Regions from separate parts of the Homo sapiens genome. Here all the other regions are linked to region 2. The links are contacts of gene promoters, found by promoter capture Hi-C in blood cells and fetal thymus (Javierre and others, 2016). All regions are on one chromosome and are shown on one strand. Each heading gives the region's core, a stretch centred on a gene start or on the middle of the fragment in contact. The rest is flanking DNA. Distances are from core to core; before and after follow the strand shown. Region 1 has its middle 210 kb from the start of CHD7. Region 2 holds the start of CHD7 (chromodomain helicase DNA binding protein 7). Region 3 has its middle 240 kb from the start of CHD7. Region 4 overlaps LOC124901949 (a long non-coding RNA gene). Region 5 overlaps RAB2A (RAB2A, member RAS oncogene family). Region 6 overlaps CHD7 (chromodomain helicase DNA binding protein 7).

What was found. Contacts are between HindIII fragments. The CHiCAGO score rates a contact against its expected background, and 5 or more counts as called.
Region 1: a contact is called between a fragment that was not itself captured here and the fragment with the promoter of CHD7 in region 2, in 12 of 17 cell types (activated CD4 T cells, naive CD8 T cells, non-activated CD4 T cells and 9 more). The highest score is 18.6, in activated CD4 T cells.
Region 3: a fragment that was not itself captured here is called in contact with the fragment with the promoter of CHD7 in region 2 in 14 of 17 cell types (naive CD8 T cells, activated CD4 T cells, naive CD4 T cells and 11 more); the score reaches 29.6 in naive CD8 T cells.
Region 4: a fragment that was not itself captured here is called in contact with the fragment with the promoter of CHD7 in region 2 in 1 of 17 cell types (naive CD8 T cells); the score reaches 5.1 in naive CD8 T cells.
Region 5: a fragment that was not itself captured here is called in contact with the fragment with the promoter of CHD7 in region 2 in 1 of 17 cell types (naive CD8 T cells); the score reaches 5.3 in naive CD8 T cells.
Region 6: a fragment that was not itself captured here is called in contact with the fragment with the promoter of CHD7 in region 2 in 10 of 17 cell types (naive CD8 T cells, activated CD4 T cells, naive CD4 T cells and 7 more); the score reaches 20.7 in naive CD8 T cells.

What each region holds. Positions count from the first base shown.
Region 1 is chr8:60,883,679-60,888,090 of GRCh38, forward strand. No RefSeq gene overlaps it. Among named protein-coding and RNA genes, the nearest start is that of CHD7, 210 kb to the left of the region's middle. The HindIII fragment of the contact is 2,457 bases long and covers 515-2,971 here.
Region 2 is chr8:60,676,282-60,680,604 of GRCh38, forward strand. CHD7 (chromodomain helicase DNA binding protein 7) reads left to right here and starts at 2,459. Exons shown (of 38, transcript NM_017780.4): 1 at 2,459-2,801. RefSeq lists silencers at 2,007-2,446, 2,807-2,906, 3,567-3,936. The HindIII fragment of the contact is 9,178 bases long and covers 350-4,323 here.
Region 3 is chr8:60,920,595-60,924,934 of GRCh38, forward strand. No RefSeq gene overlaps it. Among named protein-coding and RNA genes, the nearest start is that of CHD7, 240 kb to the left of the region's middle. RefSeq lists enhancers at 1,522-2,035, 2,036-2,549. The HindIII fragment of the contact is 3,388 bases long and covers 647-4,034 here.
Region 4 is chr8:60,502,696-60,507,072 of GRCh38, forward strand. The region is part of intron 1 of LOC124901949 (a long non-coding RNA gene); the gene reads left to right. Among named protein-coding and RNA genes, the nearest start is that of RAB2A, 12 kb to the right of the region's middle. The HindIII fragment of the contact is 456 bases long and covers 2,553-3,008 here.
Region 5 is chr8:60,539,208-60,544,164 of GRCh38, forward strand. The region is part of intron 1 of RAB2A (RAB2A, member RAS oncogene family); the gene reads left to right. Among named protein-coding and RNA genes, the nearest start is that of RAB2A, 25 kb to the left of the region's middle. The HindIII fragment of the contact is 1,240 bases long and covers 1,690-2,929 here.
Region 6 is chr8:60,829,063-60,833,828 of GRCh38, forward strand. CHD7 (chromodomain helicase DNA binding protein 7) reads left to right here. Exons shown (of 38, transcript NM_017780.4): 15 at 1,260-1,515. Among named protein-coding and RNA genes, the nearest start is that of CHD7, 150 kb to the left of the region's middle. The HindIII fragment of the contact is 1,360 bases long and covers 2,007-3,366 here.

The sequences.
Region 1 (4,412 bases), core at 493-2,992, 210 kb after region 2:
GTAATGACATCATATCCCAAGTAATTATCCCTCATTCAACATTCTGAGGATTACTAGATCTTTTCCTTTCTCAAGTTATTTGTTTACTCAGTAAATTACTCAGATCTAGCCTATTCTATAAAGGTTGGGTCATTTTTTCCAAGTCAGTTACACATCCTGTTTTTTAAAGGAAGCAAATAATAACTTGGAACTTTTTTTTTTTTTTTTTTTTTTGAGATGGAGTCTTGCTTGCTCTGTCACCCAGGCTGGAGTGCAGTGGCGCGATGTTGGCTTACTGCAAGCTCTGCCTCCCGGGTTCACACCATTCTCCTGCCTCAGCCTCCCCAGCAGCTGGGACTATAGGCGCACGCTGCCACGCCTGGCTAATTTTTTTGTATTTTTAGTAGAGACGGGGTTTCACCGTGTTAGCCAGGATGGTCTTGATCTCCTGACCTCGTGATCCGCCCACCTCGGCCTCCCAAAGTGCTGGGATTACAGGCTTGAGCCACCATGCCCGGCCGGGAACATTTTTTTAAGCTTTACCCATCTAGGAAGTGTGTAGTATCATGGTTTATACTTATATAGTTACCCTAAAGTTGTTCTAAGTATTTGTTATGTCTTAACTCATTAAGGTCTTAACTCAGAAAGGTCTGATCCTTTTGACTGAAATATCTGGGGGAAAATGTCATTGGGTCTGGTCAGCCATCCCATTACTGGGTATATACCCAAAGGACTATAAGTCATGCTGCTATAAAGACACATGCACACGTATGTTTATTGCAGCACTATTCACAATAGCAAAGACTTGGAACCAACCCAAATGTCCAACAATGATAGACTGGATTAAGAAAATGTGGCACATATACACCATGGAATACTATGCAGCCATAAAAAATGATGAGTTCATGTCCTTTGTAGGGACATGGATGAAATTGGAAATCATCATTCTCAGTAAACTATCGCAAGGACAAAAAACCAAACACCGCATGTTCTCACTCATAGGTGGGAATTGAACAATGAGATCACATGGACACAGGAAGGGGAACCTCACACTCTGGGGACTGATGTGGGGTGGGGGGAGGGGGGAGGGATAGCATTAGGAGATATACCTAATGCTAAATGACGAGTTAATGGGTGCAGCACACCAGCATGGCACATGTATACATATGTAACTAACCTGCACATTGTGCACATGTACCCTAAAACTTAAAGTATAAGAAAAAAAAATACATGATCTATTAAAAAAAAAAAAGAAAACGTCATTGGGTCTGGTGCTTCGGAAAATTGGGATCTGAATAATTTTTTATTTTATCTGTCACCTATCAACTTCCCCATCACAGGACATACTGCAGAGATGTGATGGTCCAGCAGAAGCGCAGCCTTCCCCTTATGCATTCACATGCTGGAGCTGGAAAAAAGCTGGAGGAATCCAACCCATTCAAGTTATGAGGAAGAACCAACTCTTTTCAGTCCACCCAGCTGGTGAGAAGCAGGTACTAACACTTGGGTATGCTTTCTCTCACCCCAGTTCTTCCACCAGCACACAAAATGCCCTTCCCCCCACTGTCACAAGGTTGAAATGTAGTTAATCATCAAGAACAAGGATGGTGTGGAAGGAAATGAAAGGGGCAGATACAGCCTAGATAATAAGTAACACTATATTGGGTACTTTTCTCTTAAGACTCATATCAATTCAAAAAAAACATAGATTATAATAGCTAACACTATTAATCCTTGCTATATGCATTTTACATGGATTATCTCATTTAATCCCTGCAAAAGCCTATGATATGGATGTTATTGTCATTCCTATTTTATAGATGAGAAAACGGGCTTCAAAATGTCAAATAACTTCCCTATGATGCCACTAGCCAGTGGCAGAGAAAGGATTCAAATCAAGAACTCTCTGATACATAAATCCGTGTCCTTAACCATTAGCCTATCCATGGGCAATTTTCTTACCTCCATTTTACAGCTATGGACTCGGCATAGCCCAGTGTGGCAGAGTTCTTAGATACAAGTTATGGCAACCAACTCTGGTTCACTTACACAGAAAGAGAGTTGGTTCATTTATGCAGGAAGAGGAAACCTAGCAAGCTCACCAACTCCAGGTTGCAAGAACCTTGCGGTTCTCTGAGGCACCCCATCTATGCTCCTATTGTCCACTGCAGAGCAGAACTCCATTTCCTCTTTCTTAGCAGACGGATTACTTCAGTCAAAACCCATACCATCCCCCACACACCACACACTTTCTTTTTTCTTTTTCTTTCTTTCTTTCCTTTTTTTTTTTTTTTTGAGACAGAGTCTCACTCTGTCACCCAGCCTGGAGGGCAGCGGCGTTATCTCGGCTCACTGCAGCATCTGCCTCCTGGGATCAAGCTATTCTCCTGCTTCAGCCTCCCGAGTACCTGGGTCTACAGGTACACACCACCATGCCTGTCTAATTTTTGTATTTTTAGTAGAGATGAGTTTTCACCATGTTGGCTAGGCTGGTCTCCAACTCCTGGCCTCAGGTGATCCACCTGCCTCGGCCTACACTTCCTTTTTTCAATCCAGTGGCAAGAGGACTTTGAAATGCCCAGGTGTGAGTCTCAGCTTCAAATTTACAATGGAACCATTGCTGCCTCGCCTGCTGGAAGCATTCTTCCCTTATTTATTAAGACCTCTAACAAAGCCCAGAGCTCTGGGGTCAGAAAACAAAATAGCTGCAAGTGGTTGTGAGGCTTTACTATTCCTCCAACCATCCCTATTCACAGGAAGGATCCACTGCATGTGGATCGCTGATTCCCACTCTCTGTATGTCCCAAACCATTACATCGAGTGGCGTGAACTCACCATTTTTTCAGGTCAAAAATGATGATTCACTGGCAATATCATTTAGTTTAAGAGCAAGGATTTCCCCCTACATTTGCTGTTTCTAGAACTGAGTCTTCATTTGGTTATGCTGCTGTTCTACAAGGGCAGCTGCTTCTGAGATGTGGGCTACAAGGCAAGCTTGGAGACTCCCATAGACTTCAGCCCATTGCCTGTCTTCCTTCACTCAAAAATAAATACTTTAGGCCAGGCGCGGTGGCTCACGCCTGTAATCCCAGCACTTTGGGAGGCAGAGGCGGGCTAATCACCTGAGGTCAGGAGTTCAAGACCAGCCTGACTAACATGGTGAAACCCCATCTCTACTAAAAATACAAACAATTAGACAGGCATGGTGGCACGCACCTGTAGTCCCAGTTACTTGGGAGGCTGAGGCAGGAGAATCACTTGAACCCAGGAGGCAGAGGTTGCAGTGAGCCAAGATCGCGCCACTGCACTCCAGCCTGGGTGACAGAGTGAGACTCCATCTCCAAAAAAAAAAAAAAAAAAAAAAAAAAAATGCTTTAGTGAGAAGGAATTCTATGTGGGTATGAGATACCATCATGATTGATAAGGCATTCATGAAGGCCATGTGTGTCATGAAGGAAGAAGCTTGTTAGGAAGGAATGCCAATGCAATCCAGGTTCATAATAAGTGTTCATTCCAGTGAAAACAAATTGCTACCTCTACAGTTATGGAAAAGATTCAGTGTAATCAACAGGCTACCAGAAGGCAAGCTGCTGCTCCTGAATATGGTGCCACATTGACACTCAGGGTTCATCACTGAAGTAGGCAAGTGGGATACGCAGCCAGGTGAGGAGGATATGCAGCCAGGTGAGGGCCCGTGCTTGTCTCTGAGCCCATGCATAGCTTCCTCCCTCCACGGCCTCTCACTTCATGTACCTATTCGGTGGCACTGGGTTTCTGAGGATAGTGGCTGACTGATATCCCGAGAGGACGGTCATGTCCACCTTATTAAAGAGCGCCTCCTTCACTGGGAAGAATTTTGGTGAGCGTTATCATGGCATTCTTGGTGCCTGTTCTCAGAGGTCAGTCTATATTCTTTCCCTGATCTGGTCACCAACTCTTAATCTTGCTCTTTACTAATTTTTTACTAGGTGGCCAAACAATTAATCACTGTCCACACAGCCTGACTTAAGCTCCTATCTCCTTCTTGGTAAAATAAAGAATGAGAAGAACCAATTATTTATGCTGGGATGATTGCCTTTCTTTACTATTTTTCAAGAGTCAGTGTCACTCTTCAGCAGTCTCTCCCAGCAAACACCTACACATTGTGCAAAGTCATATACACACAGATTTTTTTTTTTCCATTTTCAGTCATCTGATCAGGAGGATTCCCCACGAGGCTCAGGTGTAGGTTGAGGGAAGGGTCATAACATAGAAGGCAATGTACCTGGGTGTGCGAGCCATCTGCCCATACAATTTTCTTATGCCTTCAGGATCTGCACAGCCTGAGTGATGGTGCTTTGGGGAATGCCTGAATTTCTGGCTGGGAGGATGAGATAAAACCTACTTCATAAGGCAGAGCTCAGGTTCACCTGGTATTCTATGATTAAATATGC
Region 2 (4,323 bases), core at 1,209-3,708:
GAATGAATGGCTAAGTCTCTAAATTTGTTACTCTGGCTAGCTGTTGGGAGGAAAGCAACCCATTGAACCAATTTACACTCATCTGTGAAAGACCAGTAGCCCCTTATCTCACCCTAAGGTATTTGCATACTTAAAGAGAAAGCTTGTGAATTCAAATTACTCTCATTGGGAAAACTTCAATAGTGAAGCAAATGGAGAAAAAACATTTCAGGCTAAAGGGGAGTGTTGGGGGATGGTGGTGGTGTGGTGAGAGCTATGACTCAGGTAGGCCAGATCTGCCTAGGAGTTTGCCCCTGAGGGCCTCTACTTTTTAAGGCCCCTTACGTTCCACACCACCACAACATCTAAAAGCTTAGAGACTTCTTCATGATGGCTCAGGGCAGTGATCAGGATAAGGAGACTATAAGTCAGAGGACTTATATTCTGTAGGACTGTTTTTACATTGGGTACTGGTATATATCAAAAGGAAGTTTCCTAGCTTTCGAGTTAAATGTACAAGAGCACAGGGAATCTCCTCATAGTCATATTTGTTGATAACAAGTTAATTGCAATATTGTAATTTCACTATATGTAGATGTCATTTTTTTTCTCCTGTGAATTGCCTTGAAATAGATGCACATCTGATATCGAGCTGTGGCACACTGTAAAAGATAAGACATAATTTTTTATGGCACATTATTTTAAAAATGTGTTCTAATATAGTCAGGTACTAGCGATTTTTTTTCTAGACATTGTGTCCTGTTTTTGACCCCCCCGCCCCACACACCCCTAAAGCACCTTTCATATACTTTCATTGGGAAATATAAACTTAATGGAAACAGTAGCCTAACCTCAGAGTTGTGATTCTTGGTTTGTGATACCGGGTTTAAAACAGATGGAAGTTGATTTTAGTGGTTTCAACTTTTTAAATGCCAGAATTCTTTCTGTACTGTCTTCTATGTTCTTTTTGATGATCTGTAAGCTCCTTAAACATTAAAACATTTATTTCTTTTAGAACAAAACTCAAATACATGATGAAAGCAAGCTAAAAGCAGTGCATTTAACAAACCACAATATAATGTGATATATTTATAGAATTATTACTAAAATCAGAAAATCAATGTCTTAGTGATTAAGTCTAGGATAATCAAACTTATTGAATAGTTGCAGTAGTTACTTAATGAGATAGTTTTGATTAATCTTTTGTCCAAATAACAATATTGTGATTACAGGCTTAGCACTACAGGTAGTGTAACCATCAGTGAGTGAGATTAGTACATTTTACATAGTTTTGCTATTTTCTCAGTTTATTTTGGAGTCCAGTAATAACCAGTCAGTCTGTACCTGCCATAGGGCAATCTTTGGTTGATATGAGTTCCTTTCCTGATTTTAAAATAAGTGCAATCTTTAACCTAATAAAATTATCTTAAAGTTTACAATTGATGGTTTAAACACATTATAATTGCTCCGTATTTTGCAGATAGAAGAGGCTTAATCCATGTTTGTAGATCTATTTCCTAAAATAAAAATTAGTAAAAAAAAGTTTTTTTTCTTCAGGTTTAACATTCATTTTGTACCGGGAAGAGAAATGGAATAAGAGGCTCGGATTTTTAAGACTATGCAATCAGATACAAGTGCCATTTTGGCCAAAGAATGAGTAAAACATTCTAGTCCCGACACGTTTAATAATGGGCATACATCCTATTTCTTTGTTTCATAATCATTGAGCTCTCTGCCTTCTCTCTCTTTTTTGGTATGGTAACAAATTCGACAAAATCAATGCCATCTAGTTAAACTTTTTGATTAAGTAGTGGATCCGGTGTCCTATCCACGAAGAGGTGGGAAAAGCGATGTGGAGAAGCAGGCACGAACCCATCTGGAATGGAACATGTCCCTTCCGAATAATTTCATGTGGGAAAATAATTTCAAGTTGAAGGATAATTACTGCAGAGACTGCCAGTCACCCCCGGCCGCCGCCGGCCGCGCAGCGTCGGAAACCCTTCGCGGCAGCCAGGAGGGTCGCAGCCCTCCCGGAGCCCCGCTTCCTGCCCCGGGGCGGCGCACCCGGCTCCGGGAAGGTGCCGCGCGGGAGACGTGGCAGCAGCCCCTCCAGTCCGCGCCCGGGCGCAGCGGCCGAGCGCTCCGTGCAGCCGGGCAAGGAAGACTCCGCGGCAGCAGCGCACCGGCCGGCGGGGAGACCCGCCTGAAGCGCCGGCGCCCGCCAGGGGACGGGAAGTGGCGCCCGGCCCGCCCTTGCGGCCCGCGGCCCGCGGCCCAGCAGCTCCGCGCCGCCCCTTTTCTCTCGGCCTCTCCCTCGGCCTCCGCCACCCCGGCCGAATTCTTGCATAAATTATGCCAGGCGCGCCTGACGTCAGGTGGCGGCGCGCGGGCGCGGGCGCGGGCGCGGCGCGGCCCGGAGGGAGCTGGCGGCGGGCGCGCGCGGCCCCGCGGCTTCGGGTGCGCGCGGCGTGCCGGACGCGCGCAGGCGCTGGCGTGCTGGGGCCGCGGCGGCGGCGGCGGCGGCGGCGGCAGCGGCGGCGGCGGCGGCGGCGCGGGGGTTGAGTCGTGGTGGTGCGGACGCGCTCGTGCTCGGGAACTATCGGATTAAACTTGAATCGAGTGAAATTACACAAAGGAGCGCCGCGGAGGAGGCGGCCCGGGGACCCGGACACCCTGAAACTCACCAGAGACCCGTTCGCCCCCGGCCAACTCCGTGCCCGTGGATTCAGCCCCCTGGCCGCAGCTGCCGAGCCAACTCCGGAGCCCGCTCTGCGTTTTGTTTTCCCCTCGGCACTAGGCAGCGGAGGAGCCCGACCGACCCGGTGAGCGCGAGAGTTCGCCCGGCGCCCCCGGGAGGGGCGGCGGCGGCGGCGGCGGCAGGAAATCGCTCCGGGCCGGGGCCGGGGCCGCGCTAGGAGTTGGGAGCGAGGAGTTGGGCGTGTGCGGGGCGAGGGGCGAGGGGCGAGGGCGGGAGGGGGCCGGGGCCAGCGCAGGAGCGCAGCGCCGCCCGCGTAGTGTCGCCGGCGTCGCCGCCCGCGGGGCCCGAACCCGCGCCCCGAGCGCCGCCCGGCGCCCCAACTTTTGCCTGCGTCCGCCGGGCCGGCGGCGGCGGGGGCGCGCGGTGCGGCCGAGGGTCACTTCCTCGCATGTAAATGGCTTTTTGTTGTGCTGCCGGCGTGGGGGGGGGGTACGGGGGACAGGAGGGAGCGTGTCTGCGCGCGGGGGAGCGCGAGCGCGTTTCCTCCCGCCGGCGCCGAGCACGAGTTGCCGGCTCCATTCGAGAGAAAAAGGAAGGAGGAAAAGTTGGGCTCCAACTCAAGTGCGAGCGGGCGATGGGCGCGCGGGCGCGGGGCGGCTGAGCAGCGGCGGCGGCGGCTCGGGGACGGCGGCGACCCCCGCCTCCCGCCCCCGCCCCCCGCTCCGGACCGACCACGCCGCGCTCGCCGGGAGCTGCGGCCGCACCGGCGCGAACAAAGTGCGTTCCTCCCGGCGCGGCGGCGCCAGCCCGCGCGGGGACCGCCACCGAGCGAGGTGGGTCGGCGGCGGGGAAAGTGCGCGGGGCGCCGCGTGGGGCGGGGGCAGCGCGAACACGCGGCGCGGGAGGCGTCCCGAGCTCAGCCAGTGCCGGTCGCGGGCGCGGAGTTGCGAGCCCGGAGTTGGGGGCTCCTGGGGCTCCCCGGCGGCTCCCAAGTGCGCTAGGAGGAGAAGAAAGGGAGCGGGGCCGGGGCGAGCGCCGGGAGGCGCGGCGAGGAGGGGACCCCACCTTGTCGAGCTGGCCGGGCCGCCGGCGGCGGCAGCTGCATAATAGCGACTTTAACCTTCCAACGCAACTCGGCTCCCCCGCCCCCCAACCCGCCGGGGGTCAGCGCCGGTGGGGGGTGGTCACCAGGTGGCCCCCGAGGTGACCCGGGTGCGCTCTGCCCTCGCAGAGAGCCGCGGCTTGGAGCGTGAACGGCCGAGGTGGCTGGAGGCCAAGCGGTCAGCGGGGAGAGGAAAGGAGGGCGGTGGGGGACGCGTTGTTTGTTTGGTTCGCACCGGGGATTGGGCTCGCTGGGGGCGCGGGGCTCGGGCGGGGGCGCGGGCACCGGCTGGGCTGCGGTGCGGGGCGGGCGCGGCGGCGCGGGGCTGTCGAGGTCGCGGGGGGGGGGGGCGGGGGCGGCGGCGGCGGCGGCTCCCGGGCGGGGGTGGGGGCGCTGGTCGGGAGGCTCTGGGGAAGGAGCCGCCGGCCCCGAGCAGCCATCATTACCGAGCCGCCTTTCTCCGGATGGCTCTGCCTCGAGGAGCCCGGAGCCGTGGGAGCGCACCCCAAACTCCCGGCCGGCCGCCCGCTTTGTGAGCGCCCCC
Region 3 (4,340 bases), core at 1,091-3,590, 240 kb after region 2:
TCTTACCACATTGGTGGCATTGAATGTCCTTATTGATTTTTGCCTGATTGGTCTAACTTAGAACAGGATCAGCTTCATAAATGGGACATCTTGTGGGCTGAAATATGAGATTTGTTTTAACAAACCACTCCTAACCATCATCTCTTTAAGGGAAGCCAGGAAAGGCAATTGCTGAATTTCTTCTTGGCCTTCTCTCTGGTTATCCCTCTCACTCCTCCTACTTTTCCTTTTCTCTTTCAGGCTGCTTTCTCCTACTAGTTACAAAACAAACAAAAAACAAACAAACAAAAAAAACAAAACAAAACAAAAACTAAACTAAACCAAAAACAATAAATGCCAAACAATACTCAAAGAACTACCAAATTATTCCCTGGGCCCCTGAATCAGATGGAGCTGAATCATTCTGGCTGCTAACTGAGTGAAGGGTGTTGGGGAAAAGTGCCATTGTGTAAGTTAAGGAAAGGGTCAGAGAACCGAAAAGACGGCAGCTGTATGAAAGGGCTTCTGTGCTGGGATTCTCCTTTTAAGCTATCCAAAGGCACAAATCAAGAACCGCAACCTTGGAGATATGACAAATGAACACAATTCTGGTTTTTTGTTTTATTTTAAAGTGAAATTCCACTGTTTCCCAAGAATTTGCACATGAAGCTTTACATATTTTTCATGTCAGCCCCCTTCCTTGCCACCTTTGTTTTCCAGCCTGCCTCCCCTTAACAGCTGGACACATCACCGTTCCATTTTTCTATTAGTTGTGACTGAAGTAGCTTGAGGTCAATTATTTCCCCAGCAATTGACAAAGAATCTTGATGAAGAGGAAAGTGACATTGTCCCTTGAACAACACTGCTCCCTCCTCCCCCTGCCCTCCCGGCTGAGAGGAGAGAGCAGGGCAGACTTTCCTTTTGCAAGGAGCCCAGCAGGGCGGTGGCGGTGGGGTCTGTGGAAGTGCGTGGGTAACATATGGTAAGTGGAGAAAATATTTATATTCATGGTGAAAGAGCAGGAGAAGATCCAAAGAAGGTCATTCCACAGAGATTTCAAGCAAGAGACACTGACTTGATATTGTATCTTTGACCTGGATACAACAGAGAATTTAAAGAAAGAGTTTTCTTTTGTGGCTTTCCTGCCACCGTTACTTCCAACAATCCGAATTATTGGCAATTTAAAAAAGAAAAGATTCCGCCCACTAAACTTGATAAAAGTATCACACTGGCCCTTCCCCGGGCCCTGGCCAGGCTGCCACGCCTTCTCCCCTCCCCCTGCGCCAGGTCCCCAAATCCAGAATTCGGAGCCGCGGTCACTGAGCCTGTGCCTTGGGCCTGCGGGCGGTGTTTGTTGTTGTGACTGGGCGGCTAGGTGAGACGGAGCGCACGGGCAGAGTGCGCATTTGGGGCGACTGGTTCTTGGGGGAAGATATAAATAATGAATCGGTGTTAGATTATTTTCTGATGAGACACATGAAACCTCCAGTGCTTTCAGCAGGCATTTTGCATCACAGCTTCCTAAGAAAGGTAAAAGGCCCTCTTTCGGTCCCCCAGTGGCAAAATTCGCAGCTGTCGCCCAGCACCACAATCAAATGCGTGCGGGGCTGCGGGACAGAGGCGTCCTCGCGTACCCTCGGACAGACCCACAGCTGTCTGGCGGATACACACGTGCGCGTCTGGTCGACCGGACCAGCAGCTGCTTGCGTCCCCTCTCCCGCGCACGGTGGCGGCCCCGCACCAAGACCCGCTGAGGAAACGAAGAGTAGGGTCATTTCCCATCTTGCCGTCGAAAGTTTATCCCATTTCCCGGGTGTGCAGGAAGAGATGGCGCGAGGGCAGGAAGGTGTGAAACTGGGGTTCTGCGGGAGACCCACCGTGGCTCTATATTCACTCTCGTTTGAAAACTGCCAGCGTTCCACTCCCCCTAAATTCCAGTTCCCGAGGGGGAGGTAGTGAGATGGGATACAGGTGCGTCTGGGTCCTCGCTTGGGAGGGGTTCTCCCACTTTGGGACCCCTCGTGGAGCAGCCCATAACCGACCGGCCTGCTGTACAGAGGCCATGCTTAATGGATTCTCGCAGATAAAAGGGCCTGGCTACCTTTCTTTCCTATAATGGCCCCTGAGGCTAATGTCTTAAAGAGGAAACAAAGGGATTGTTTTACAGCACACAAGGGGGGTGGCGGGAGGAACAGGGAGAGGAGGAGGAAGGGGCATTGGATACGCGGAGCGGGAGGAGGCCTCCCGCTTCTTAACCCTTCACCTCCTGCGACCGCCCAGGTCTCCCGAGCTCCGCACCCTCATCCAGGACCCGAAACAGCGGGGAGGAGGCGACAGTGCGTGGAGGGCCCCGCCCTGTGACTCGACCTCCAGCTCTCCTCACCTCCTTCCCCGTCTTTTTAAAGAACTTCTGAAAGGGAGAACGGAAAAGATGAGGGGACCCATATCTCGTGAGCTGCAGTTCTGAAAAGTCAGTTCTAGAGGGGTCGTCTCTCGCGAGGCCCGGGTGCCCACACAGGATCGACGCGTGGCAGTGCCACCTGGGCCCGGACTCTGGGACTGCGGGAGGCGGGAGCGCCTGGGGCCAGGACCTGGGCGTACGCTGAGGGCACCCGGTGAAGGCCGGGGAAAGTGGGGCAGCTCCGAAATGCGGCCTGCACGTCGCCCTGGGAGTCGTTCCCGGGCCCCTCTGCAGACACAGCCTTCAGGTGTGAGCGGTGTGTGCGCCGGCCGGGGGCGTCTCTTACAGGAAGTTTATATTTGCAAACTGGGCGGTGGGGGGGGGGGGGGGCGGGGCGCGGCGGGAGAGAGAGAGTCTCAGTGGCTTCTGCTTTCTGGCTTTTCTGTTCTGGCTCCAGGAAAAGATCAAAACAATAGTTAAATAGCAATTGAAGACAAGTGATGTAAGAAATAAACAACTCGACAACAAAAATGCCCATAGGGACGGTTTTTTAAAACCCTTTATTATGGAAATCAGAGCACATGCACAAAAGGAGAGAGAAAGGTATTGTGCAGTGGGTCTCAAATTTGATCAAGCATCCGAACCGCGGAGCGAAATCCTCTGGAGGGCTTGTTAAAACACAGATTGCTGGGCCCTAGCCCTAGAGTTTTTTGTTGTGTATTTTTAAGCAGATCTGGGGTCAGCTCCCTCCTGAGAATTTGCAACTTGTTAGAGCCCTCAGGTGGTGCTGCTTCTGGTTTGGAAAGGACACTGCTATCCACTGGTCCAATAAATCTCCGCGTACCCTCTCCCACCTTCAATATGTACAACACCTCCCCACTCTGTTCATTCTATCCCCTCCCACATTTTGTTTGGTTTGCTGGAGAATTATAAAGCAATTCCCAGCCATCCTATCATTTCACCTATATAGATGATTTTTGATTCGGTGGTTACTTAAGCCGAGAGGACTGCAGGCTTCCTTGTGGTCATTTCACATTGGGGCAGAATCTGGTACCTCTCTCTGGGAAATCCATGCCCATATCTTGGTTCTGAGACCACCCTTCGGGAGTTCCTTTCCAGCAGATTGTCACATGCCCAAACATCACCACTGGGTCTGCTGGCAAGCTGGCCTGGCCTGGTCAGGGCACCACCTGGTCCCCATCTTTCATTTTCTGCTCATTGTCCCCAATCTGTCATCATGTACTCCCACAACCATCGTTTCCCCTGAGGTATTTTCCTAACAAGGCGTCTCCCCTCCAGGGTGGAGTTCTGAGTGCCTAGGGATGGGGTGGTACCCACAACAGTGCAAGCCCATAGGATTATTTGCATCAGTTAGGTCCAGGACTCACACCCCAAGGGGAGCTTCTCTGGGCTACTTGACCCTCCGCATAATTCCTGATTGGAAAAGGGGACATTCTAGGCATAGCTTCTGGGAATGGCCATCACTGACATCTGTCGTAACCTCCCTTGATTGTCGGGCCCTAGCTCAGTCTGGCTATCTGTGTTGCTTCTGTTCCAGAGAGGTGCCAAGTGCTCTCTTAGACTCCACCTGGCTAGTCCTAAGTGTGCAGCCTCTACCTATCTCCTTGCCTCTCCTTTGGGCCGCTCCGAAACAAGCTTCCCTTCTTTCCCTCCCCTCCCCTCCCCATCCTGGTTTAGGATACCATCTGCTCCTTCCACAGCTTTCTCATCCCAGCCCCTCCCAGTCCTATCCCCACCTCAACCCTCAGAGGTCTCTTGGGCTGTTACAAAGTTTAGACATTTTTTTTTATTTTTTAAACTTTTAGAGATGGGGTGTCACTTACTGTGTCACCTAGGCTGGAGTGCAGTGGTGCGAATTCGGCTCACTGCAGCCTCAACCTCCCAGACGCAAGCGATCCTCCCACCTCAGCCCCTAAGTCACTGGGACTACAGGCACGCA
Region 4 (4,377 bases), core at 1,531-4,030, 170 kb before region 2:
GCCCCTTGAAGGGGATTTCCCTGCCACATGGAATGATCCATGTGCTTCCCACAACCTCGGCACTGCACAGTAATCCTATCACTTTGATATTCTTTTTCCCATTTTACAGATTAAGAAACTGAAATACAGATGGAATCAATGGCATGGCCAGGTCATATGGTCAGTAACTAATGAAGCTGGAGGCTTAATATACTGCCAAATAAAATTATGGGAGTGACCTGAAGATCCAGATTGGATCCCAGGGCCAGAACTGGATGGTAATTTGATTGAATTTGTTAAAGTATCTAAAATGACTGTTATCACAAGTGGGGTTAGTCAGCCTTAAACCCTCAAAAAAGGAAGGTCTCAGAGATAAAAAGCAGTATTCTCTATTAAAACATGATTCATGGTTTAGATCTCAAGAACTTCAACCACAAAAAAAAACTTGTTTTAAACATGATTCATGGGAGTTTTTCATTCATCAAAATATTTGATACTTGGGCAAAGCCATTAGGCCAGGATTATAAATGCTGCAGAGGCCAAAGAGATAAATGGCGCTGTTCAGAGGGAGATAACAGGGTGTGGTTAGGGCTGATGAAGTAAGTGAGCGAATGAGCTGATTAAAGGTATTGGGATTAATGTTTTTCTCATCCCAAAAGTGAGATGGGTGACTCATGTTCTCTTAGCTTAAGGTCATTAAATATTCCATAGACATTATTCTTTGTCCAGGATAACAAAAAGCTAGTTGCACAAATTTAAAATATCCCTGTCTCTGGGACAATGATTTCTCATTGCAATTTGACCTTCTGCTTTTAAAAATCAGACTCATAAACTAGGTTAATGTAAGTCCATTCCTGAAAGATGAATTCACTCTTGATATACAGAGAAATCAGGTTTCTAAGCCTGATTTACTATACATACCAGCCTGTGAGCCCCCTTGGGAGACACAATATAGCCTTGCTTTGTGAACATAAAGCATACATCATTTCCTTGTGGACGACAAATATGTTTTTCTTATTTGTTATATGCTGATGATTTTTAAATTTGTCTGTGGAGGTCACAACTCTCATTAGTCAAAAATTTAAAAAGCTGTACCAGGCTTGCTGTAAAAATTAGATGATTTAAGGTAGTTTGTTAAACATTTTTTATTGCATTAAACTTTTAGGAAATTTTAAGAATAACTGTGAGAGATTCAATAGATACATAGGTAAAGGACACAAGCATGTTATCTACAATAGAGGAACTACAAATGTCTAGCACATAGTTGAAAAAAACATTTGGCCCCCACAATTATGCCAGCTATGTAGTATTTCTATCTCAAGCTCAGGCCACTCCCCCAAGCTCCAGATTCAAATGTCCAATCGCTCATGTGAGATCACTTAGAAGTCTACTGGCATCTCAATTCAACATGTCCAAAACAGAATCTTTGATTCACTCTCCTTTTTCCCACATACCTGGTCTCCTACCTCAATTAATTGCATTACTTTGTTCATCAGGCAAAATAAACAGGAATCATGCTTACTTTTTTCTCCTTCCCAGTTCTTCCATACAAAGTCTGTCATTGAGCTGGACCTGGTGAGGTCCTGGACTCTTGGGTGCTGCCTGGACCCACCCAAATGCCAGAATGGGAGTGACTTGATTAAGTTCCTCAGGGAGCTAGGTTAAGCAGATAACCTTTCTCTTGTTTCACACACACACAAAAATCTTGCCCTCCTAGAAATTCACCTCTCAAAACAATACCAGCCAAGTAGAAGAGGAAAAGAAGAGCAAGTGTCTAGAGGCCCTGATTTGCCTGGACACCCATCTGGGTGATTTGGGGTGGCCAACTTGAAAGAGCTTTTTTTTCCCCCAAGCCATTCTCTCCTGTTCTCAGCCAGCTTCCTGCAACCATGAGGTCAGAAACAAAAACAAGTATGTTTGTGCTTTTACATTTGTGATGGGCAAGGTACTCTAAAACGCAGGGTTCAGGGCAGGGGCCCCTTTCTTCTGAGTTCAAGAAAGCCACTGAGTCTTTTTTTTTTAGACAAGGTCTTGCTCTGTCACCCAGGCTAAAGTGAAGTGGCAGGAACATGGCTCACTGCAGCCAGTCTCATTCTCCTGGGCTCAAGCAATCCTCTCACCACAGCTCCCCAAGTTGCTGGGACTACAAGCACATGCCATAGTGGCCTGCTAACTTTTTTATTATTATTATTGTAGAGACAAGGTCTCACTTTGTTGCCCATGCTGATTTCAAATTCCTGGGCTCAAGCAATCCTCCCATCTCAGCTTCCCTAAGTGCTGGGATTACAGGCAAGATACACCACTGTACCTAGCTTTTATTCATTTTATTATTCATCTTTATTGCTTTCATTGCACATGCTGTTAACTTCTTATGAACTCTTTGTTCTAATAAATAAGCATATCCAGGTTTTTCATAAATAAATGAGGAGTCTATAAATTCTTACTAGTTTTAATAGAAACATTGCCACTAAAATGGTGTATTCTAGCTGTGTGAGCTTTTGGAAAATGTTTTCATTTCCTTTATGTTTGAATGTTCCTTCCAGGTCTTTGAAAATATACATTCTGAGTTGAAAAGCTTTATAATAGGTAAAACTCATTAACCCATATACTTTCCATGCTGGGCACAGCAGGTGTGGTAGGTAGAAATATAAGATGACTCCCAAGATTTTTGCACCCTGGCATACACATATGCTTTTCCAGTTGTTGAAACACTAATTTAGGTGCTGCTGTGAAGGGATTTTGTAGATGTGAATAATGTTCCAAATCAGTTGGCCTTAAGATAGAAAGATGATCCTGGATGGGCCAGATCTTATCAGTTGAGTCCTTAAAGGGAACAGCACCCTTCCTGACAAAGAGATTCAAAGCATGAAGGATTAAAAATGAGAGAGATTCTCTATTGCCAGCTCTGGAAATAGAGTAGGTCACGTGGTAAGTCGTTCAAGTGGCCTCTAGTTGCTGAGAGCAGCTCCCAGGTAAGAGCCAACAAGGAAATAATGACTACAAGGAGATGAATCTGGCCACACTATGTAAGCTTGGAAAGGAACTCTGAATGCCAGATGAGGATGCAACCAAGCCAACACCTTGAGTTTAGCCTTATGAGATCCTGAGTCGAGAATCCAGTGAGACGATGCCCAGATTTACCACAACCCTAGAGGCTAAAGACAATACCCCCTAATTATCTCACAATGCTGTATTGTCTTTAGTCTCTAAGGTTATTTAGTAATTTAGTAATAAAAAGCAAATCCAGTAGGACCATGCTAAATTAAGATACAACCTCTATATCATATGATGCAGTGTGAATCAGCACAGTAGAGATTGCAGTGTCTCTGGAAGCCATTTCTATACTGGACAATTCTTTGCAATAATTCAACTACACGTGCAAGTGATCAAATTAATATATCTTACAAAACTAAGTGTATCTTCAACAATACTCTTCCTTAACCAGTACCAAAAAAAAAGATCTGTGAATATTCTCTAACACCTCTCAACACAAGGGCAAGTGTCACAGATGGAAGTGAAGACTAAAGAGAGACAATAGAATTCACTGATTAAGGTTTAAATATCTTACTTTAGCAACTTTTTATTTGCAAAAATAGAAAACTGATCATGTGAACACATTTGCATTAAAAGATGTTTCTGCAAATTAGGGGCCCTGAAATTAAGCTTCATTAGGTTCATGGTAAGTCTACCTCTCTCTTTATCTATAGCACTTGGCAAAGGGCCTGGCATCTGAATGACAGGTCTCAAATGTTCTTTTTCATATGATTACATTAAATAAATCATTAAATTGTTATTTACTTAAATAACTTTAAAATTTTCTTGAGTGAATTAACACTACTTGAAGGATCCCTGTAAACTGAGTCCACTTTCAATTTCCTATCTACTGGGTCACTTATAACAAACCATGTTACACGTATACTTCCTCATCTCTGCTTGTTTCCAAGAAAGGAAAGGTAAGTAATTTAGTTTTTGTATTTCAATTAGTAATTCAATAACCTGTCTGTTTTTTGTTTTTTTAAAGCAAAATAGCTTATCTCAGAGTTCAGATCAGACAATCTCACCACTGGTGTTTGGATTCAGTGTCTTTTGAGGTAAAGTGAAAGAAGAACCTTTCAGAAATGCATGCAGTTAATTCAAGGAGAGGAAGAAGGATCTAGTTCTAAAGAGGTTTTTGTCTATAATTGATTTTTCTAAAGGAAAAATCAACAAAAAGTATAGTGTGTCAATGCTGAATACTCTGCTCTTTCAAACGGACACTTTCGTATTATAATTTGTATCAGATACAGTATCAAGAAAATTAAAATACCCATATACTAAGAGCAAAAAATGTTCTTCAGTAAGTCTGGTAATGAAAACTTCAAGATAAGATTTCAAAATTACATAAGGCTGCAGTTCTTC
Region 5 (4,957 bases), core at 1,060-3,559, 140 kb before region 2:
GGAGTAAAGCTAGATATATAAACTGATAATAAAAGTACCATGTGATAAGTGCTTAATCAAGTATGTACGTATAGAGTAATTTGGCCTTAGCAGATAAAGTGAGCTTGTCTTCAGGTACTGGGAAAGGAAAAAGAAGTGATTTTTCCTAGATGCATTATCTCTTTTATTACATATTATCTCTTTTATTTCTCACAATAGCCAATGAATAAGGTGGTATAATTACCATTACACAAATAAGCAAACAAGGCCTAGAAACCTGAAGCAACTTTTTCAATCAGCATCATACACAGGATTCAAATCTAGCCCAGTAAATATTTGTTATCTCTTAAACTGGTCGTGTACTTTGAAATGAAGAAGGCATAAGTTCACCAAATATAAAACGTAGGACTAAATGCAATTGTGAAGGATTTAAAAAGTAGATTTGATGCATCCTTGCCCTTATGAGGTTTATAGTCTAGCTGTGCTTGTAGAATATAATAAGGGCTCTGACTGAGGAACTGGAAGAAAGTATGGCATTTTGTAAGAGGGGGAATGCGTTTTTCCTCCTTCTTGGAAAATCATAGGGTACAATAACATTTGAACTGGTTCTGACAAGTAGAAATGGTAAAAAATCAAAATATAAAAATAGGAGTAAACAGGAAGGTAGTTGTCTGCTAAGTTCCACACCTTGTACTGTCCTTGATATGAACGGTCCAGTTTAACTTTAGTATGGACCCTGTGTCAGGCTGTTATGAGAAATAAGGCTGGAAAGATAAATCCATTAAACATGGTGGACCTAGGGAGGTACATGTGACAGGTTAAGGTAGAGTTTGAACTCTATTTTGTAGACAGTGGAATGCATTGAAGTTTTTGAAAGAAAGAGTATACAACTAGAATTATAATTAACTTTAAAACCAAATACAGTATATATTCATATTTTAATATAGTAGCGTAGACATACTAGATGTTAAATGTAATCCTTTTCTTCTGTCTCATCCATTCTCTTTTTGTCTTTTTCTCATCCATTCCTGGTGCAGTCATACGTAGAATAGATTAGAAGGGTACGGGTATATAGTTAGATGGTAATTAAAATGTTCCAGAGAAGAGGTTCCTAGAGGCCTTGTCTAAGGCAGTGGTAATGAAAATAAAAGGAGGTTACAGATGAGAGCTGGAATTATCAGGGTTTAGTGAAGGATATCATAGGGAGTGAAAAGTGTTAAAAATGAAGATCATTTTCAGACACTTTTCCATTTCTGAAAAGTGTATACTTCAAATACTGCCTGCCTGCCTCCCTCCCTCCCTTTCTTCTTTTTGAGACAGTCTCTCTCCGTCGCTCAGGCTGAAGTGCAATGGCGCAATCTTGGCTCACTGCAACTTCTGCCTCACAGGTTTAAGCGATTCCCGTGCCTCAGCCTCTCAAGTAGCTGGGATTACAGGCATGTGCCACCACGCCTGGCTAATTTTGTTACATTTTTAGTAGAGTTGGGCTTTCCCCATGTTGGCCAGGCTGGCCTGGAACTTCTGACCTCAAGTGATCTGCCCACCTTGGCCTTCCAAAGTGCTGGGATTACAAGTGTGAGCCACCGTGCCCAGCCCATTTTTTTTATATAAGAGTAATGCCTACACATGGTAATGTTAAAACAATATGGAAGGGCAGAAGATTGGATATGGTGATGAGAGATGACATTATATAAGACACAATGGGTAAAAAGCTTTTCCTTATGTGAAAACTCTGGGGCAGAAGTCAACTCTTCTAGTGTGGGCTGTGCATAGTAATTTCCTTCCCAAGAATACAGTATGGAAAAGAGGGGGAAAGTTCCTTTCCATTGGAGAAGCCTGACAGACTACCTTAGCCAGGTTATGAAGGTTAAAGTCAACAGTGATCAGTCACATTGATAGTATGTACCCTTGATATGATGTGATGAAAATGGTATTCTTTCTCTGTCATCTTCCTTCCAAACACTTATAATCCCAGTCTAATCATGAAAAAATTAGACAAATTTCAACACAGGGCATGTTACAAAATACCTAATCAGTACTCAAAACTGTCAAGAACATCAAAAAAGGAAAGCATGAGAAACTGTTACAACCAAGAGGAACCTTAAAGAAGGCCTGACAATTAAATGTAATATGGTTTCTTAGATGTGATCCTGAGACAACAAAAGGACATGAGGTAAAAACTAAGGGAAAAAATTAGAACTTTAAGGGAGTTAAAGGTAAAGAGATTTTATAAAGAGTGCAGGATAAAGAATAATCCCAGCACTTTGGGAGGCAGTCAGATCACCTGAAGTCAGGAGTTCCAGATCAGCCTGGCCAACATGATGAAACCCCATCTCTACTAAAAATACAAAAATTAGCCAGGCGTGGTGGCAGGCACCTGTAATCCCAGCTACTCAGCAGGCTGAGGCAGGAGAAGTGCTTGAACCCAGGAGGCAGAGGTTGCAGTGAGCTAAGATCACACTATTGCACTCCAGACTGGGCGACGAGCACAACTCCATTAACCATTGTGTAACCAGTTAAGGTGCTTAGTAAGTAGTTGCTGAATATATCATATTATTACAGTTCTTCATAAGTCTATTTTTAAGGTCTAGGCCTTCAGTGAGGCCTACTTCATCTAGTGGTTGAAACACAGGTCTAGATTTGGTTTCCTGGAGTCCACGTCACACCCAAGCTGAGCGAGATAATCACAGAAACTTGTCAGTGTTCTTTCTCTTCTAGCATTGACAACAGAGGCTATTGTGTTTTTCCCCTGAAACCAGACAGTTAAATAAATTATTTTATACATTCACAGGCAGAAAATGTTCATCTTTGAAAAAATCAAATGTGGCCTGGAGCAGCACCCTCCCCTACCTCACCAAAAATAAAAATCAGGAAAAAATTTTTAATAAAAATCAGGAGAATACAAAGGAAGATACTTCTACCTTTGTAAAGAGAGGTGTGTCTTATGGAAAGCTTCCTAGAGGATATGACACTTGAGTTAAGTCTTAAAGATGAGTAGCTGAGTAGACAAAAGAAGTCGCTGGTTATTAGAGAAAGAACACTGAATAGGCTGGGTGCAGTGGCTCATGCCTGTAATCCCAGCACTTTGGGAGACCAAGTCAGGCAGATCACGAGGTCAGGAGATCGAGACCATTGTGGCTAACACGGTGAAACCCCATCTCTACTAAAAATACAAAAAATTAGCCAGGCGTGGTGGCATGTGCCTGTAGTCCCAGCTACTTGGGAGCTGAGGCAGGAGAATCGCTTGAACCTGGGAGGCAGAGGTTGCAGTGAGTGTCGAGATCGCGCCACTGTACTCCTGCCTGACGACAGAGTGAGAATCCGTCAAAAAAAAAAGAAAGAACACTTAATAAATGTATGCAGAGGCCCAATGTGTAAGAGATACTGACATATAGGAACATAGGCTTTCAGCTGAGTTTATATCTCATTTACTCATTTTTGTGATTTTGGTCTCATCCCAGAAGTGTTTTAATATTGGGGGTACTTTAATATTGTAAAAGAAAGAAACAGAAATAGTAGTAGATGATTGCATCAAGGGAAAGAGGGTAGAGGGTTAGTTCTTCATATTGTCCATTTCTTTTTTTAATTGATTCTTTAGCAACTCTCAGCTTTGTTAGCGTACTTTTTTCTGCACTTTGCAGTTTCCAGGAGAAAGATCTTTTACATTCTGAAAGCCACATCCTCTTGGGAACTTTATTTTTATTACCAAACTTGATGCCTGGAATATAGTAGGCATGCATTCAATTAATATTCTTTGAATAACTATCTCTTCTCTTCCCTCCTAGCTTTCACTGGGCAGCCTTCTCAAATAAATGCTCTGTATTCCCAATTTTCTTTTCCCACACCACTCAATATTTCTTGTGTTTGAGTAACTTACTGATTGCACTAGGAATTATTATAGACAGAATCAACAAGACTGGGAAACTAACAACGTAAGAGTCTTAAGAGGAATGAAAGATGACTCTTGATTAGTGTATTAGGTTTTTAGGGCCACTGTGACAGCTTACGAGCTTGGTGGCTTAAAATCACAGAAAGTTGTTCTGTCACATTTCTGGAGGCCAGAAGCCTGATATTAGGTGTGTTCTCTCAGAAGGCTCCAGGGAGAATCCTGCCTTACCTCTTCCAGCTTGTGGTGGCTCCAAGCGTTCATTGGCTTCTGGCAGCAGAACTGTACTCTCTATCCCTGTCTTCATTCACTTAACTGTACTCTCTATCCCTGTCTTCATTCACTTAACTGTACTCTCTATCCCTGTCTTCATTCACTTTGCTTTCTCCCCTGTGTCTTTGTCTCCTTCTGCCTTTCTCCTAGGACACTTGTCATTGGATTTAGGCCCCACCCTAAATCCAGGATCCTTAATTACATCTGCAAAGATCCTTTTTCCAAATAAAGTCACATTCATGGTTCTAGGGTCAGGACTTGGACATATCTTTTGGGGGGCCATTATCTATTCAATTTACTACAGTAAACCGCCAGAGAGTATGTAGCTGATGAAATGGAGGTTATTCTCTTGGATGCAAGGGGATAATGTACGGCGAACCAACAGCATGAAAACAATTCCGAAATCGTTCTATTTAGAAAGAGAGTGATAGCTGGGCACAGTGGCTCATGCCTGTAATCCCAGCACTTTGGGAGGCTAAGGCAGGTGGATCACCTGAGGTCAGGAGTTCGGTTCAAGACCAGCTTGGCCAGTATGGTGAAACCCCGTCTCTACTAAAAATACGAAAATTAGCCAGTCATGTTGGCGGGTGCCTGTAATCCCAGCTACTCAGGAGGCTGAAGCAGGAGAATCACTTGAACTCGGTGGGTGGAGGTTGCAGTGAGCCGAGATTGCGCCACTGCACTCCAGCCTGGGTGACAGAGTGAGACTCCGTCTCAAAAAAAAAAAAAAAAAAAAGTGATAAATTGCAGATATTTTCAATTCTTTTTTTTTTTTTCTCACTGTTGCCCAGGCTGAAGTGTAGTGGCGTGATCTCGGCT
Region 6 (4,766 bases), core at 1,437-3,936, 150 kb after region 2:
GAGATAGCTGTGCTGTGCAGGTTGGTAGTTTTGCTAGGTATGTGTAATTTTGGGGATGATGTCAGACGCCACTGACGTTGGTAGGCCTGTTTGCCTGCTGCAGTTTTGAGTCTCTGTTCTTTGTGAAGCATCTGTACTCAGCCACACCGCTTACTTCTTCAAGCCTACGTATTTTCACTTTAGAAACTTAGGGCATAACCACTGCACAGTATTTCTGTGAGAAGTAAATGAAGCATTGTGTATAAAAAGTGCTTGGGCCAGGCGCGGTGGCTTACGCCTGTAATCCCAGCACTTTGAGAGGCTGAGGCAGGCGGATCACGAGGTCAGGAGTTTGAGACCAGCCTGGCCAATATGGTGAAAACCCATCTCTACTAAAAAAAATACAAAAATTAGCCGGGCGTGGTGGAACACGCCTGTAGCCCCAGCTACTCTGGACGCTGAGGCAGGAGAATCACTTGAACCCGGGAGGCAGAGGTTGCAGTGAGCCAAGATTGCACCACTGCACTCCAGCCTGGGTGACACAGTGAGACTTCATCTCAAAAAAAAGGAAAAGAAAAGAAAAGTGCTTGGCTATTTTATATGCTGTAAGAGTTATGTGGGCATTAGTTATAATTTGTGTGCTGTATTTGAAATAAATAACGGAGATAGACTTGAAATCTTGGTTTTTACGTGCCCCCTCCACTGACTTACTGTCTAAAACCTGTTAGCTCAGTTCAGAGTAAGGTCTGTTTTGTTTTTCTTTTCTAAAATAAAAACTGTATGGATTACTCAGTTCTATTGCCAATCAATAGAAAAGAGAACCAGGGAGAGACGTCTCTGCTGGCTCCTTAGTGCAGGGACTAGATTGCTCCTGGCTCACTTCCTCTCATTCTTTAGCTCTCCCTAGAAAGGAAGAGAATAGAAACAGAGCATTGCCATGACATTGTCTTGTCCCTCTTCTCTATCTTCCCTATGGCTTAGGACAAACAGAAGGGAAAGCTACATGAATCAGTTGGATTTCTCCTGCTGGGTACTTTTCAAGCCTTCTGGCTGTTCAGGGCTCCTGGATGGGTGAAATAGTTCATTTGACATAAAATTATGCAACCTTCATGCACTGCTCTTATGAAAGCTGAGAGATGAGCTCCTTCATACTCTCACTGGGCTTTGAAAAATGAAAATGGATGTTTAATGAATGAGATAATCCTGATGTTTCATGTTAAAATATGTTTTAACTTGCAAGCAAATCATGACACTAGTATTTACTTAAGGTCCTTTTTTAGGTGCAAAAACTTCAAGCTATTCTAAAGCCAATGATGTTGAGACGTCTCAAAGAGGATGTAGAAAAGAACTTGGCCCCCAAAGAAGAAACTATTATTGAAGTTGAGCTAACAAACATTCAGAAGAAATATTACCGAGCCATCCTTGAGAAGAATTTCACATTTCTTTCCAAAGGCGGTGGTCAAGCTAACGTACCTAACCTATTAAACACTATGATGGAATTGCGGAAGTGCTGCAATCATCCGTACCTTATCAATGGTAAGGCTGCCCTGCTCGCGAACTTGCTTAAGTGACGATTGAAGCACCAGAAATCCCTTTCTGCCCCCAGACTGGGGATTTCATGGTGTATAGTCATTCCTGTCTCCTGTCCACTCAGCATGGGTTTCACCAGCTTCCCACTTTCTGTGATGCCTCCTTCTGTGGTTGCTGAAGGTGAGTGACCATTGCCCCAGCAATCCCTGAAGTGGAATCTCACCTTGCCTTTCTCCTGACCTCCCTGTGCTTGAAAAGAGGCGTTAGTGTTCCAGGGCTAGAAGTCATCTGAAGTGCTAACAGCCAAAGAGAAATGAGCCCCTAATGGAGGTTTTCTTGGGGTGTGTGTATTTAAATCAGAGATGTTAAAGAGGAACTTAGGTGTGAGCAGACAGCTATCAGCTGTCTCAAGCCTTTGATAGCAAATGTCCTCATCTTCCTCTCAGTCCAGAGTCATCTAGCACCTCTATCCTCTGAGAACAAAAAAATTAACTTAAAGCTTTGATAATTTATGGCCCTCCTCTTTTCTTAACTAAATTCATAGTGTTATGTAACTCATGGCTTAAAACCTTTATTATGTATTTTTGGAAATCATTAAGGTAGTAAATATTTCATGCTTATGTTGTATAAGATACTCTGGAGAATGCAAAGGTAAATAAGAAGGGAGCATTCGCCACAAGCAGTCTTCAGTTAGCTGAGGGATTGAGATTGGGGGAGTCTTTAGAAGGAGATGGTCTTTTTAGGCAAGTCTGCAGGGGTAGAAAGGATTTTGCGAGGCAGAGTTAGAAAAAGAAAAGATGTTTAGGCTGAAGTAACGATACAAGCAAAGAGAGGGGGTCAGGAAAACAATGAGGAACTTTCCCAAAGTAAAAGGCACACATAAGAAATGCACCTTAGACATGCTTGGATCCTGCTGCAGAATTCCTTAAAGGCTAGTGCATGGAACCTCCACTCTACTCTGCAGGCAGTGAAGAACCATGACTAGTGTTTGAGCTGAGCATTGATTAGAAATATGATTCAGGGTGATGCGTCAGGCAACACTGCATAAAAAGGATGGGAGGAGGAAAGACAGACAAGCAGAAGAACCAGCTCAGAGGCTATTGTATTCTGGGTAGAAGTTAATGTGGGTTAAAGAAAGGTGGTGGCAGGCTAATTTGGGAGACTTGTACACGATGATAGTTGGCCAGCAGTGCAATTAGATTCCTTTCCAAGGAAAAGGGAGCACAACCTGGTCTGTCTTTATCACAGTTTATGTTCAAGGACAGCTAATTTAAAGAATTTCTAATCTTTCCCCTTTTAATAACGTGTAACTCATCGGCCACCCTAGATTCAGAAGTCTCCGTTACTAATGGACAGAGTAGTCCACTCCTGGAAGATAGTCTTAGAGTGTTGCACCTGGGATCATTGGTGTGATGCGACGAATCAGTGAATTTCTTTTTTATATATATATACACAGTTTTTTTTTCTTGAGATAGGTTCTCACTCTGGCGCCCAGGCTGTAGTGCGGTGGCACGATCTCGGCTCACTGCAGCCTCGACCTCCCAGGCTCAAGCATCCCTCCCACCTCAGCCTCCTGAGTAGCTGGGACTACAGGCATGCGCCACAACGCCCAGCTAATTTTTTTTGTATTTTTTGTAGAGACGGGGTTTCTCCATGTTGCCCAGGCTGGTATCGAACTCCTGAGCTCAAGTGATCTGCCTACCTCAGCCTCCCAAAGTGCTGGGATTACAGGTGTGAGCCACTGCACCTGGCCAGTGAATTTCTTTTTGTGCTTTTAGTTTTGTCTTCTAAAGAGAGTATCATGTGTGATGATTATGTATCTGATACTGCCAATCTGCTAATCACAGTATGTTTAGAAGCTTGTGCAGCCGTTACGGTGAGTGTTAACTAGCCAGGTCTTGAGTTGGCGAGACAGAGCTTAGGGCAACTGATGGAGCGAGATGAGGACACGTGTGTGCATGCACTGTGCACATACATGTGTTTGCATTTAATAGCTGGTACAAAAGAAAATAAATAATAGCCTCCAAGGGGAAAGAAAAGAAAAGGAGATACAAAAGGGTTTGAATGCTACCAGCAGGATGTGTGTGAAAGGGGAGATCTCAGCAATGGTAGTTAGATTGACACCCCCAGTTCCATCAAGTTTACCCTGTTTGGTCATATGTTAATTATATGCATTGAACATTGTGGGTTGTTTTCCCCCAAAACACAGCTGGTGTGTCTCTTCCTTTGATGATTGCTTTCCAGGGTCATCCTGTATAGCATATTTGTTCGCGAGGAGCCTCTTAGGACTCCCTAAGGCTTGGCAGATGTGGCAGTTGTCCTAATTGGTCACACCTTGAGGTCAGCTTTTCTGTCCTGACAAGAAGTGTCTGTTAAGCAGGTGTCTTTGTCCCTAAATTTGGGGAAGTTATAGTGAAAAAGTGTAGATAACATACAAACTAAGCGCACGCAGCTGCCCAGATAACTTACGCAGACATTGTATTGTGTAGAGGTTGCTCCAGGGCCCGTACTGTTCATTCTCATCCACAGTCTGGAGTAAAAACATATATCCAGCATTTAAAAGGAAATTCTTTAATTTGGGAGATTACATTGAAATTTGAATTGGTTGTGGCAGAGTAAAGAAGCCTCAATCAACATTCAACAAAACACATTTCCAGGATTATGAAAAATAGAAGCAATTTTATATGTATGAGTTGAAAGCTTATGTATGAGTTATTAGCTCAAGCTTTATTTCAATGGAATTTCCAATTTTTAGGTTTTGCAATGTGAAGTTAAGAATAATGTTGAAAACATGTCCAAGGTACCCTGCTGGTTAGAGCTGACTTAAGAGTTGTTGCTGGTTATTGTTTGAGGCAGGAGGCGTGTAGAGGAAGAGTGGGCAAAAAGAAAACACGAATGAGGCTTACGTGATGGAGTGAATTTCAGAGAGAAAATAGTAACTTTTTTTTTCTGGTAATCGTCAAGAACAAAATATTTTCTTGTTTGTTCGTGGCTTTTATATAGCTAGAGGACATTGCAGTTACTGTCCCGACAGTGACCATCTGTTGAAGTGAAAAGACTTCAAGCTGTAAGTGAATGCACACTTGTTTCAAGTTGTCTTTGATATACACACTTTCCAGTGTAGTGCCAGCCATACATTAATTTAGGACGGAACCAACAAAGTGTTTTGGGTTGGCATGACCTATTTCCAGTTAATTTTTGGATTGATGTTTACAAATTGGGTATCAAACATTAATTTGTAATCTTGAAAATTTAGC